Regions from separate parts of the Homo sapiens genome. Here region 1 is linked to region 2. Evidence: promoter capture Hi-C in human tissues and cell types (Jung and others, 2019). All regions are on one chromosome and are shown on one strand. The core of a region is centred on a gene start or on the middle of the fragment in contact, and the rest is flanking DNA. Distances in the headings are between cores, read along the strand shown.

What was found. The method cuts DNA at HindIII sites, captures the fragments that hold promoters and counts their contacts. A contact is called where the count stands out against the background at its distance.
Region 1: a fragment that was not itself captured here is called in contact with the fragment with the promoter of RDH16 in region 2 in 4 of the 25 tissues and cell types used here (H1 embryonic stem cells, adrenal gland, mesenchymal stem cells and 1 more).

The regions. Positions count from the first base shown.
Region 1 is chr12:56,887,591-56,894,404 of GRCh38, forward strand. No RefSeq gene overlaps it. Among named protein-coding and RNA genes, the nearest start is that of SDR9C7, 43 kb to the right of the region's middle. The HindIII fragment of the contact is 5,339 bases long and covers 1,355-6,693 here.
Region 2 is chr12:56,954,386-56,960,628 of GRCh38, forward strand. RDH16 (retinol dehydrogenase 16) reads right to left here and starts at 3,223. Exons shown (of 4, transcript NM_003708.5): 1 at 2,765-3,223; 2 at 521-779. The coding sequence starts at 3,077. The HindIII fragment of the contact is 7,259 bases long and covers 1-5,486 here.

The sequences.
Region 1 (6,814 bases), core at 2,774-5,273, 66 kb before region 2:
CACTATAAGGCGGGGGTAGTGGGTTGTGTGAGGCATCCCCATGCAGCATAGGGGCATTTAAAAGGGCTTCTAATAAATGTTCCCCATCATTGTGAGAAAATTCTTGCTATATGTCTACAGCTATAAATATTCTTATCCCAATCAAAATCTCAGGTTTATATCCAAGTTCAGCCACTTTAAAAGGCAATGTCAAATTATTTGGAATGAAATAATTTTCTCTTTATTGGGTAAATGTCTGAGGAGATTTATAATAGAGTATAGAAATGGTAATGTATAGAGACAGTCAAGTAAACCAAACCCTGAATTATTATTTTGAATTAAATTTGGAAATGATTTATACAGTATTTTAAGTATTTAAAAATAAAAGAGAATGTGGCATATTATGAACAATTTCACATAATAGATTATCAAACACATTTGCTTTCTAATTCCAATTTTTAAATGTATAATGAGTATTCAATTAGATTTGTGATTTTAAGATAAAAGAAAATTGTGCTATATTATAAATCATATTAGAAAGTTTAAGATAACATGGCTTTGCCATATTTATATGTTGTATTACTTGATTTATAAGGCTTATTTAGGGTTTATCAGTCATACAATTGATAATTGTATTTATTTATTTTCTTTTGTTTACAATTCTATTAAAGACATACTTTAAAAGAAAATTAAATATGTTAAATTTATGAACACAGTTTATGTTTTTAAAGTGAGTTTAATTAACACAATGAAATATTAATTTAAGTTCCCCTTAAGAAATTGATAACATTGGGGTGGAGCCCACCACAGCTCAACGAGACCTCCCTGCCTCTGTAGACTCCACCTCTGGGGGTAGGGCATAGCTGAACAAAAGGCAGCAGAAACTTCTGCAGACTTAAACTTCCCTGTCTGACAGCACTGAAGAGAGAGCAGTGGTTCACCCAGCACAGTGTTTGAGCTCTGAGAACAGACAGACTGCCTCCTCAAGTGGGTCCCTGACCCCCGTGTAGCCTAACTGGGAGACACCTCCCAGTAGGGGCCGACTGACACCTCATACAAGCAGGTGCCTCTCTGAGACAAAGCTTCCAGAGGAAGGATTAGACAGCAATATTTGCTGTTCTGCAATATTTGCCATTCTTCAGCCTCTGCTGGTGATACACAGGCAAACAGGGTCCGGAGTGGACCTCCGAAAAACTCCAAAAGACCTGCAGCTGACGGACCTTTTAGAAGGGAAACTAACAAACAGAAAGGAATAGTACCAACATCAACAAAAAGGACATCCGCACCAAAAACCCATCTGTAGGTCACCAACATCAAAGACCAAAGGTAGATAAAACCATGAAGATGGGGAGAAACCAGAGCAGAAAAGCTGAAAATTCTAAAAGCCAGAGGGACTCTTCTCCTTCAAAGTACCACAGCTCCTCGCCAGCAATGGAACAAGGCTGGATGGAGAATGACTTTGATGAGTTGACAGAAGTAGGCTTCTGAAGGTCGGTAATAACAAACTTCTCCGAGCTAAAGGAGGATGTTCAAATCCATCACAAGGAAGCTAAAAACTGAAAAAAGATTAGACAAATGACTAACTAGAATAAACAGTGTAGAGAAGACCTTAAATGACCTGATGAAGCTGAAAACCATGGCACAAGAACTATGTGATGCATGCACAAGCTTTAGTAGCCGATTCAATCAAGTGGAAGAAAGCGTATCAGTGATTGAAGATCAAATGAATGAAATGAAGCGAGAAGAGAAGCTTAGAGAAAAAAGAATAAGAAGAAATGAACAAAGCCTCCAAGAAATATGGGACTATGTGAAAGGACCAAATCTACATTTGATTGGTGTACCTGAAAGTGACAGGAAGAAGGGAACCAAGCTGGAAAACACTCTTCAGGATATTATCCAGGAGAACTTCCCCAACCTAGCAAGGCAGGCCAACATTCAAATTCAGGAAATACAGAGAACACCACAAAGATACTCCTTGAGAAGAGCAACCCCAAGACACATAATTGTAAGATTCACCAAGGTTGAAATGAAGGAAAAAACGTTAAGGGCAGCCAGAGAGAAAGGTTGGGTTACCCACAAAGGGAAGCCCATCAGACTAACAGCAGATCTCTCCACAGAAACTCTACAAGCCAGAAGAGAGCGGGGACCAATATTCAACATTCTTAAAGAAAAGAATTTTCAACCCAGAATTTCATATCCAGCCAAACTAAGCTTCATAAGTGAAGGAGAAATAAAATCCTTTACAGACAAGCAAATGCTGAGAGATTTTGTCACCACCAGGCCTGCCTTACAAGAGCTCCTGAAGGAAGCACTAAACATGGAAAGGAACAACTGGTACCAGCCACTGCAAAAACATGCCAAATTGTAAAGGCCATCAATGCTAGGAAGAAACTGCATCAACTAATGGGCATAATAACCAGCTAACATCATAATGACATGATCAAATTCACACATAACAATATTAACCTTAAATGTAAATGGGCTAAAAGCCCCAATTAAAAGACACAGACAGGAGATTGGATTAAAAAATCAAGACTCATCAGTTTGCTGTATTCAGGAGATCCATCTCATGTGCAGAGACACACATGGGCTCAAAATAGAGGGATGGAGGAAGATCTACCAAGCAAACGAAAAGCAAAAAAAAAAAAAAAAAAACCAAAAAAAAAACAGGGGTTGCAATCCTAGTCTCTGATAAAACAGACTTTAAACCAACAAAGATCAAAAGAGACAAAGAAGGCCCTTACATAATGGTAAAGGGATCAATTCAACAAGAAGAGCTAACTATCCTAAATATATATGCACCCAATACAGGAGCACCCAGATTCATAAAGCAAGTCCTTAGAGACCTAAAAAGAGACTTAGACTCCAACACAATAATAACGGGAGACTTTAACACCCCACTGTCAAGATTAGACAGATCAACGAGACAGAAGGTTAACAAGGATATCCATGACTTGAACTCAGCTCTGCACCAAGCTGACCTAATAGACGTCTACAGAACTCTCCACCCCAAATCAACAGAATATACATTCCTCTCAGCACCACATCACACGTATTCCAAAATTGACAACATAGTCGGAAGCAAAGCACTCCTCGGCAAATGTAAAAGAACAGAAATCACAACAAACTGTCCCTCAGACCACAGTGCAATCAAATTAGAACTCAGGATTAAGAAACTTACTCAAAACCACTCAACTACATGGAAACTGAACAACCTGCTCCTGAATGACTACTGGCTAAAAAACGAAATGAAGGCAGAAATAAAGATGGTCTTTGAAACTGATGAGAACAAAAACACAATGTACCAGAATCTTTGGGACACATTTAAAGCAGTATGTAGAGGGAAATTTATAGCACAAAATGCCCACAAGAGAAAGCAGGAAAGATCTAAAATCAACATCCTAACATCACAATCAAAAGAACTAGACAAGCAAGAGCAAACAAATGGAAAAGCTTGCAGAAGGCAGGAAATAACTAAGAGCAGAGCAGAACTGAAGGAGATAGAGACACAAAAACCCTTCAAAAAATCAATGAATCTAGGAGCTGGTTTTTTGAAAAGATCAACAAAATTGATAGACCGCTAGCAAGACTAATAAAGAAGAAAAGAGAGAAGAATCAAATAGACACAATAAAAATGAGAAAGGGGATATCAGCACTGATCCCACAGAAACACAAACTACCATCAGAGAATACTATAAACACCTCTACACAAATAAACTACAAAATCTAGAAGAAACGGATACATTCCAGGACACACATACCCTCCCAGACTAAACCAGGAAGAACTTGAATCCCTGAATAGACCAATAACAGACTCTGAAATTGAGGCAATAATTAACAGCCTATCAACCAAAAAAAAGTCCAGGACCAGATGGATTCACAGCCGAATTCTACCAGAGGAAGAAAGAGGAACTGGTACCATTCCTTATAAACCTATTCCAATCAATAGAAAAAGAGGTAATTCTCCCTAACTCATTTTATGAGGCCAGCATCATCCTGATACCAAAGCCTGGCAGAGACACAACAAAAAAAGAGAATTTTAGACCAATATCCCTGATGAACATTGATGTGAAAATCCTCAATAAAATACTGGCAAACCAAATCTAGCAGCACATCAAAAAGCTTATCCAACAAGACCAATTTGGCTTTATCCCTGAGATGCAAGTCTGGTTCAACATATGCAAATCAACAAACATAATCCATCACACAAACAGAACCAAACACAAAACCACATGATTATCTCAATAGATGCAGAAAAGGCCTTTGACAAAATTCAACAGCCCTTCATGCTAAAAACTCAATAAACAAGGTATTGATGGGATGTATTTCAAAATAATAAGAACTATTTATGACAAACCCACAGCCAATATCATACTGAATGGGCAAAAACTGGAAGCATTCCCTCTGAAAACTGGCACAAGGCAGGGACGCCCTCTCTCACCATTCCTTTTCAACACAGTGTTGGAAGTTCTGGCCAGGGCAATCAGGCAACAGAAAGAAATAAAGGGCATTCACCTAGGAAAAGAGGAAGTCAAATTGTCCCTGTTTGCAGACGACATGATTGTATATTTAGAAAAACCCATCGTCTCAGCCCAAAATCTCCTCAAGCTGATAAGCAAATTCAGCAAAGTCTCAGGATACAAAATCAATGTGCAAAAATAACAAGCATTCCTATATACCAATAACAGACAAACTGAGAGCCAAATCATAAGTGAACTCCCATTCACAATTGCTACAAAGGATTAAAATACCTAGGAATCCAACTTACAAGGGATGTGAAGGACCTCTTCAAGGAGAACTACAAACCACGGCTCAATGAAATAAAAGAGGATACAAACAAATGGAAGAACATTCCATGGTCATGAATAGGAAAAGTCAATATCATGACAATGGCCATACTGCCTAGGGTAATTTATAGATTCAATGCCATCCCCATCAAGCTACCAATGACTTTCTTCACAGAATTGGAAAAAACTACTTTAAAGTTCATATGGAACCAAAAAAGAGCCCACATTGCCAAGACAATCCTAAGCCAAAAGAACAAAGCTGGAGGCATCATGCTACCTGACTTCAAACTATACTACAAGGCTACAGTAACCAAAACAGCATGGTACTGGTACCAAAACAGACATATAGACCAATGGAGCAGAACAGAGCCCTTAGAAATAACACCACACATCTAAAACCATCTGATCTTTGACAAACCTGACAAAAACAAGAAATGGGGAAAGGATTCCCTATTTAATAAATGGTGCTGGGAAAACTGGCTAGCCATATGTAGAAAGCTGAAACTGGATCCCTTCCTTACACCTTATACAAAAATTAATTCAAGATGGATTAAAGACTTCAACGTTAGACCTAAAACCATAAAAACCCTAGAAGAAAACCTAGGCTATACTATTCAGTACATAGGCATGGGCAAGGACTCCATGACTAAAACACCAAAAGCAATGGCAACAAAAGCCAAAATTGACCAATGGTATCTAATTAAACTAAAGAGCTTCTGCACAGCAAAATAAACTATCATCAGTGTGAACAGGCAACCTACAGAATGGGAGAAAATTTTTGCAATCTATCCATTAGACAAAGGGCTAATATCCAGAATCTACAAAGAACTTAAACAAATTTACAAGAAAAAATCAAACAACCCCATCAAAAAGTGGGCAAAGGATATGAACAGACACTTCTCAAAAGAAGACATTTATGCAGTGAAGAGACACATGAAAAAATGCTTATCTTCACTGGCCATCAGAGAAATGCAAATCAAAACCACAATGAGATACCATCTCACACCAGTTAGAATGGCGATCATTAAAAAGTCAGGAAACAACAGGTGCTGGAGAGGATGTGGAGAAATAGGAACACTTTTACACTGTTGGTGGGACTGTAAACTAGTTCGACTGTTGTGGAAGACAGTGGCAATTCCTCAAGGATCTAGAACTAGAAATACCGTTTGACCCAGCCATCCCATTACTGGGTATATACCCAAAGGACTATAAATCATGCTACTATAAAGACACATGCACATGTATGTTTATTGCGGCACTATTCACAACAGCAAAGACTTGGAACCAACCCAAATGTCCATCAGTGATTGACTGCATTAAGAAAATGTGGCACATATAGACCATGGAATACTATACAGCCATAAAAAAGGATGAGTTCATGTCCTTTGTAGGGACATGGATGAAGCTGGAAACCATCATTCTCAGCAAACTATCGCAAGGATAGAAAACCAAACACCGCATGTTCTCATTCATAAGTGGGAATTGAACAATGAGAACACTTGGACACAGGATGGGGAACATCACACACTGGGGTCTATCGTGGGGTAGGGGGAGGGGGAGGGATACCATTAGGGGAGATACCTAATGTAAATGACGAGTTAATGGGTGCAGCACACCAACATGGCACATGTATACATATGTAACAAACCTGCACATTGTGCACATGTACCCTAGAACTTAAAGTACAATAAAAAAAAAAGAGTCAAAGTGAACAATATGGCAGCTCATATAGAAATCATGCTAGAATAAGAGCTTCTCAATCCTAATATGATTTAATTACTAAGTCTTGGTAGCATATGCATTGATGTATTTTTTGTCAGGTTTAAATTAAATGTTCACTATCAAAAAAAAGAAATTGATAATATTTGCTAAATTGTATAAATAAAATAAAATAGATTAAACAAATTATGAAAAAATATGTTTTTAGTTGTAAGTTTAACAAATCAAACATTAATTTTAATAATCAAAGTATCCCCAGAAAAGATTTTCCTACTCATAAATGTCCTGCTCAAGAACACACACATACATACATGCACACACTCAAAGCC
Region 2 (6,243 bases), core at 1,973-4,472:
ACTGCTGTAGCTGATCTTTCTCTGCTCCTTCTCTAGGGTGCAAAGCATTCTTCCATCCAGCACTGACTGCCTGGTCTGCCTTTGTGGCTCCAATACCAAGGTGCAATGGGAAGAAGTGTTTAGGGTCCTTCCCTGGGATTAGTCATTGATACACAGTGTTCCCCTGTCCTGGGCTTGGTAACCTCAGTACTGTGTTCCTCTTGGTAGGATCTGAAGCCAAAGATCCAGGTCCAATTCTGCCTCTGGCAGTTTCTGACCAAGAGATCCATCCAGGGAAGAGGTATCGTTCAAGAAACTCTCTGACCTGGGGCCCCTCCTGTCGCCCAGCACTCAGGAAGGTGCTTCCCAGTGAATGGCCAGCCCAATCCAGAAAGAGGAAGATGAGGGTGTCACACATGAAGACAGAGAGTGATCTCATGAAAGGAACTTACAGGCTGGGATTCAAGGAACTCCCTGGAAAAGACTTCCCCACAAGGACAGGAGCAGGAAGACTAGGGTGGGCCCCATCCCAGACCCATACCTGAGGGAGTCAGAGAAGGCTTCCACGCCATACTTGGAGATGCAGTAGCCTCCACCAAAAAGTGACACCCGGCCCATGACACTGGAGACGTTGACCACACGGCCCCTGGCCCTCCTCACTAAGGGCAGCAGGCTCAGAGTCACATCAATCACCCCCAACAAGTTCACGTCCAGTATGGTCACGAAGTCCTGCTTGGTGAGCAACTCATTGGGAGCCGTGGGCAAGGAGATGCCAGCATTATTCACCAGGCCCCAGAGTCCTGGGACAGTGGGAAGATGAGAGAGCATCACTGTGTTGTGCCTGTGCAGGTGGACAGAGTTAGGGTGCAAATCACATCCCAATAAAGTGAGGGCAGACTGACAGGTGTGGGATGGGGAGGAGGGTATAACAAACACCACAGTATCACAGGGGTGGGGGCTGAGCATTCAGCAGCTGGTGGGCCACAAAACCCAGGTCTTTCTCCATTTACTCTTCATGGACCAGCCTACTGCCTGAAAGACAATAAGCTATTACCCCTATTTAAGGACTGCATGAAATCATGTTAAAGAACTATTGTCCATGCATTAGTCTGGAAACATGAAGACCAATGTTTGGTTAGTTAAACATGAATGTTGCAGACATTACAGACATACAGCTGCATTTTCAGGTGTGCTAACACCTTATATAGTGATTGTCCAGCAACTATCTGTTGATGGAATAAGAGACAAGAAAGAGGGAGAGTGAGGGAGACAGGAAAGAGAGAAAGAGACAGACCTGAAATCCTAGGCTTGGGGGAACTTGGGAAACATCCTGTTTCCCAAGTGTTTGAACTCAGGGCACTGGTCTTGAAACATCCTGCATCAGTAACATTTTTATAGAAAGCACAGGGGAATTCCAATGCACAGGCTTTGGGAAGAAAGCAAGGTTGCGTCACCCCACTCAGTACACAGACTCCACCCTCTGCCCCAGAAAATGTCACCCTCTCCTCCTACTGCATCAGAAGCCCACTCTTCATCCTTCCCTTTAGTCCCAAGTTCACCCAGCTCTGGGAAAATCTCTCTGGAAGATGCAAATACACAATCCCCAGGACTTCAAGTCAATAGAGTTTTCAACCCACAGAGCTAGGGGGCAGGAGCACAGGGTCCCTTGAGTCCAGGCAGGGGGTGGCAGTTGTTGATCTGGAAGGGTTGGCCCAGGCATATGAACCTGTCCCCTGCTCAATAACAGGCCCTGCCCTGATGCAAATGCAGATTCCTCCACCCAGACATCTCATTTTTAAGAATCCAATCAATACTCACACTTACAGAGACGTTGGCAAATAAAAGTCCACCAAGATGACATTTATGATGAATAAAAAGCAGGAAGGAATTTCATATCCAACCACTCAGTATGGATTACATAGGTAAGGCTATTGGAAGGATACAGTATTCTAAATAATTAAATATAATTTTATAAAAACAGTCATTATGGTGGAAAAGTGTTCATCTTCTCCAGAGAATTTAAGGTGACTGAAACTAAGAACAAAATATAAAATCCTAATTTTGTATAATTGTAAAAAGGACTTATGTGTGGATGACAATTTCAGGGAAACTTGTTTTCATCTTTATTCTTTTCAGTGTTTTCCACAAAGATCATATTCTGATTTATTGTTACATAAAATAAATCCATGTTTCTTTCTTCCTCTATAATAAGACAGATGAATTAGTGTAGTGAAAAGAAGAAAGAAAGAAAAAGTAACCCCTTACTAGTTCTGCCTTCCTTAAGCAGTCCTTAAGCTGATACTCTCCTCTGAAGATGGAGATGATCGTAGCTCTCAGTGGACGCTGATGGGCCCTAGCAAAAACAAGGTAAAGTGCTGGGAACATAAGCCTGGCTCCAGCACAGGCACAGCCTCCGTGCACACTTGCAGCCCTGTGCTCCCTTCTCAACGATGCTCCAGCAAGTCTCCAGATCTCTAACCCAGGCTCTTAGCATCAAACAACACATGACTTCTGCTTAGACAGGAGGGAGAGGATAGAGAGGAATTCTGGAGAGAAAATCTCATCAGGGCAAACTCTCCCCAAGACTAGACACCTCCAATGTCGGGAGAGGTTAAGGATTGAAAAGAGATGGGGTTCAGGCAGCCTGTTAAGTGAGAAATATTAGAAAGCTACTGTTACTTCAACCTGGAAAGACACTGTAGGAATCTTCCCAGGGAGCAGACAGGAGGTGGTCCCTTCACACAGAGGGAAGACACAGACAGACTTGACAAACCTGGGTGGTTACCTTTGTCTCTCACGCACTCCTTCACCCACTGGGCGGCTGCAGCAACGCTCTCTGTCTTGGTAACATCCAGGGTCACCGTCTCCAGCCTGTCTGAAGTCTGGCCCCTCAGCTGCTCGGCTCCTTTCTCCGTCAGACATGCAGCCAGCACCCGCAAGCCTCGTGCATCCAGCTGTCTGGCCAGCAGTTTCCCGAAGCCAGAGTCACAGCCCGTGATGAACACATACTTATCTCTCAGGTGGCTCAGCACCTGCCTCTCCCGGTACCAGTGCAGAAGGTAGTACAGGCCCACGAAAACCGCCAGGTAGAGCCACATGGCTTTGCAGAGGACAGACACAGACAGGCTGTGGGGGAAACCAGAGTCTGGCCTCTGTTCAGACAGGAGGATTTAAGAACACAGAGGGCTGTGGTAGGCAGGGAAGCCCTCAGGCATTTTGGCAGGGAATCCTCACTTTCCTCCCTGATGACTGCCTTTCTGCAACATATTTATTCTGGCCCCACCTCTCTGCTCTTTGAACTGCTTTTGCAGTACTCATGCACACCTTTGCACACCTCAAGTCCTGCCCAGTAGGAAGATACTATCTTCCTACTGGGCAATGTGCCCCTAGTCTCCTGATTTCTCTCTGCCTTGCTATGCCCACTACATGCATGCTGTGTCCATGAAGGAGCACACACATATATTCACACAGGAACATACACAGAACTCACACAGGCTTACACACAGCTGCCCACACACACTCTCCATGGCAAACACACCCCTCTGCTCTAAGTACAGGGGTCAAAACTGTCTCTACAAAGCTCCGATACCAACACTCCTGGTCCATGACCTTCTGAACATAGAAAGGCCTTATTGGGTAGCTACCCATGGTTTCCAGGCACATTAGGTGGAAATCCCTCTCTGAGCCTGAGTTTCCTCATCCTGCTCCGCACCCCAGAATCAATCACTCCTCTGAAAACTAGGGCACGGTCAGGCTGTCTAGGATGAGAAGGAGAAGGCAAAGAGTGAGCAGGAACAGGTTCCCTCCTGCTATAATAGTTTTTTGGGGCAGAAGGATTGCAGGATCCCACAGGGAGAATCCAACCTCAGAGGTAAAGAAAGCAGGGAGAGGATGGGCAAATAGGAACAGCTCCGGTCTGCAGCTCCCAGTGTGACTGATGCAGAAAATGGGTGATTTCTGCATTTCCAGCTGAGGTACCTGGTTCATCTCACTGGGACTGGTTGGACAGTGCGTGCAGCCCACAGAGGGTGAGCCGAAGCAAGGCAGGGCATTGCCTTACCCAGGAAGTGTAAGAGGTCAGGGGATTTCCCTTTCCTAGACAAGGGAAGCCGTGACAGACTGTACCTGGAAAAACAAGACACTCCTGCTCAAATACTGCACTTTTCCAATGGTCTTAGCAAATGGCACACCAGGAGATTATATCCTGTGCCTGGTTTGGTGGGTCCCATTCCCACAGAGCTTTGCTCACTGCTAGTGCAGTAGTCTGAGATCAACCTGCAAGGCAGCAGCCTGGCAGGAGGAGGGTTGCTCACCATTGCTGAGGCTTGAGTAGGAAAGCAAAGCAGCTGGGCAGCTCAAACTGGGCGAAGCCCACTGCAGCAAGGCAAGGCTTTCTGCCTCTATAGACTCCACCTCTGGGAGCAGTGCATAACTGAACAAAAGGCAGCAGAAACCTCTGCAGACTTAAACATCCCTGTCTGACAGCACTGAAGAGAGCAGTGGTTCTCCCAGCATGGTGTTTGAGCTCTTAGAACAGACAGACTGCCTTCTCAAATGGGTCCCTGAACCCTGTGTAGACTAACTGGGAGACACCTCCCAGTAGGGGCCGACTGACATCTCATACAGGTGGGTGCCCCTCTGGGACGAAGTTTCCAGAGGAAGGATCAGGCAACAATATTTGCTGTTCTGCAATATTTGCTGTTCTGCAGCCTCTGCTGGTGATACCCAGGCAAACAGGGACTGGAGTGGACCTCCAGCAAACTCCAACAGACCTGCAGCTGAGGAAACTGTTTGAAGGAAAACTAACAAACAGAAAGAAATAGCTCAAAATCAACAAAAAGGACATCCACACCAAAACCCCATCTGTAGGTCGCCAACATCAAACACCAAAGGTAGATAAAACCACAAAGATGGGGAGATACCAGAGCAGAAAATCTGAAAATTCAAAAAACCAGAGTGCCTCTTCTCCTCCAAAGGATCACAGCTCCTTGCCAGCAACAGAAAAAAGCTGGATGAAGAATGACTTTGATGAGTTGACAGAAGTAGGCTTCAGAAGGTCAGAGTAACAAAATTCTCTGAGCTAAAGGAGGATGTTGGAACCCATCACAAGGAAGCTAACAGTCTTGAAAAAAAGATTAGATGAATGGCTAACTAGAATAAACAGTGTAGATAAGTCCTTAAATGACCTGATGGAGCCGAAAACCATGGCATGAGAACTACAGGATGCATGCATAAGCTTCAATAGCCAATTTGCTCAAGTGGAAGAAAGAATATCAGTGATTGGAGATCAAATTAATGAAATAAAGTGAGAAGAGAAGTTTGGAGAAAAAAGAGAAAAAGAAGTGAACAAAGCCTCCAAGAAATATGGAACTATGTGAAAAAACCAAACCTACGTTTGACTGCTGTACCTGAAAGTGACGGGCAGAATGAAACCAAGTTGGAAAATACTCTTCAGGTTATTATCCAGGAGAACTTCCCCAATCTAGCAAGGCAGGCCAACATTCAAATTTGGGAAATACAGAGAACACCACAAAGATACTCTTCAAGAAGAGGAACCCTAAGACATATAATTGTCATATTCACGAAGGTTGAAATGAAGGAAAAAATGTTAAGGGCAGCCAGAGAGAAAGGTCAGGTTACCTACAAAGGGAAGCCCATCAAACTAACAGTGGATCTCTCAGCAGAAACTCTACAAGCCAGAAGAGAGTGGGGGCCAATGTTCAACATTCTTAGAGAAAAGAATTTTCAACTCAGAATTTCATATCCAGCCAAACTAAGCTTCATAAGTGAAGGAGAAATAAAATTCTTTACAGACAAACTAATGCTGAGAGATTTTGTCACCGCCAGGCCTGCCTTACAAGAGCTCCTGAAGGAAGCACTAAACATGGAAAGAAACAACCAGTACCAGCCACTGCAAAAACATGCCAAATTGTAAAGACCATTGATGCTAGGAAGAAACTGCATCAACTAACGAGCAAAATAACCAGCTAACATCATAATGACAGGATCAAATTCACACATAACAATATTAACCTTAAATGTAAAAGGGCTAAATGCCCCAATTAAAAGACACAGACTGGCAAATTAGATAAAGAATCAAGACCCATCAGTGTGCTGTATTCAGGAAACCCATCTCACATGCAGAGACACACATAGGCTCAAAATAAAGGGATGGAGGAAGATCCACCAAGCAAATAGAAAGCAAAAAAAGAAAAAAAAAGCAGGGATTGCAATCCTACTCTCTGATAACACAGATTTTAAACC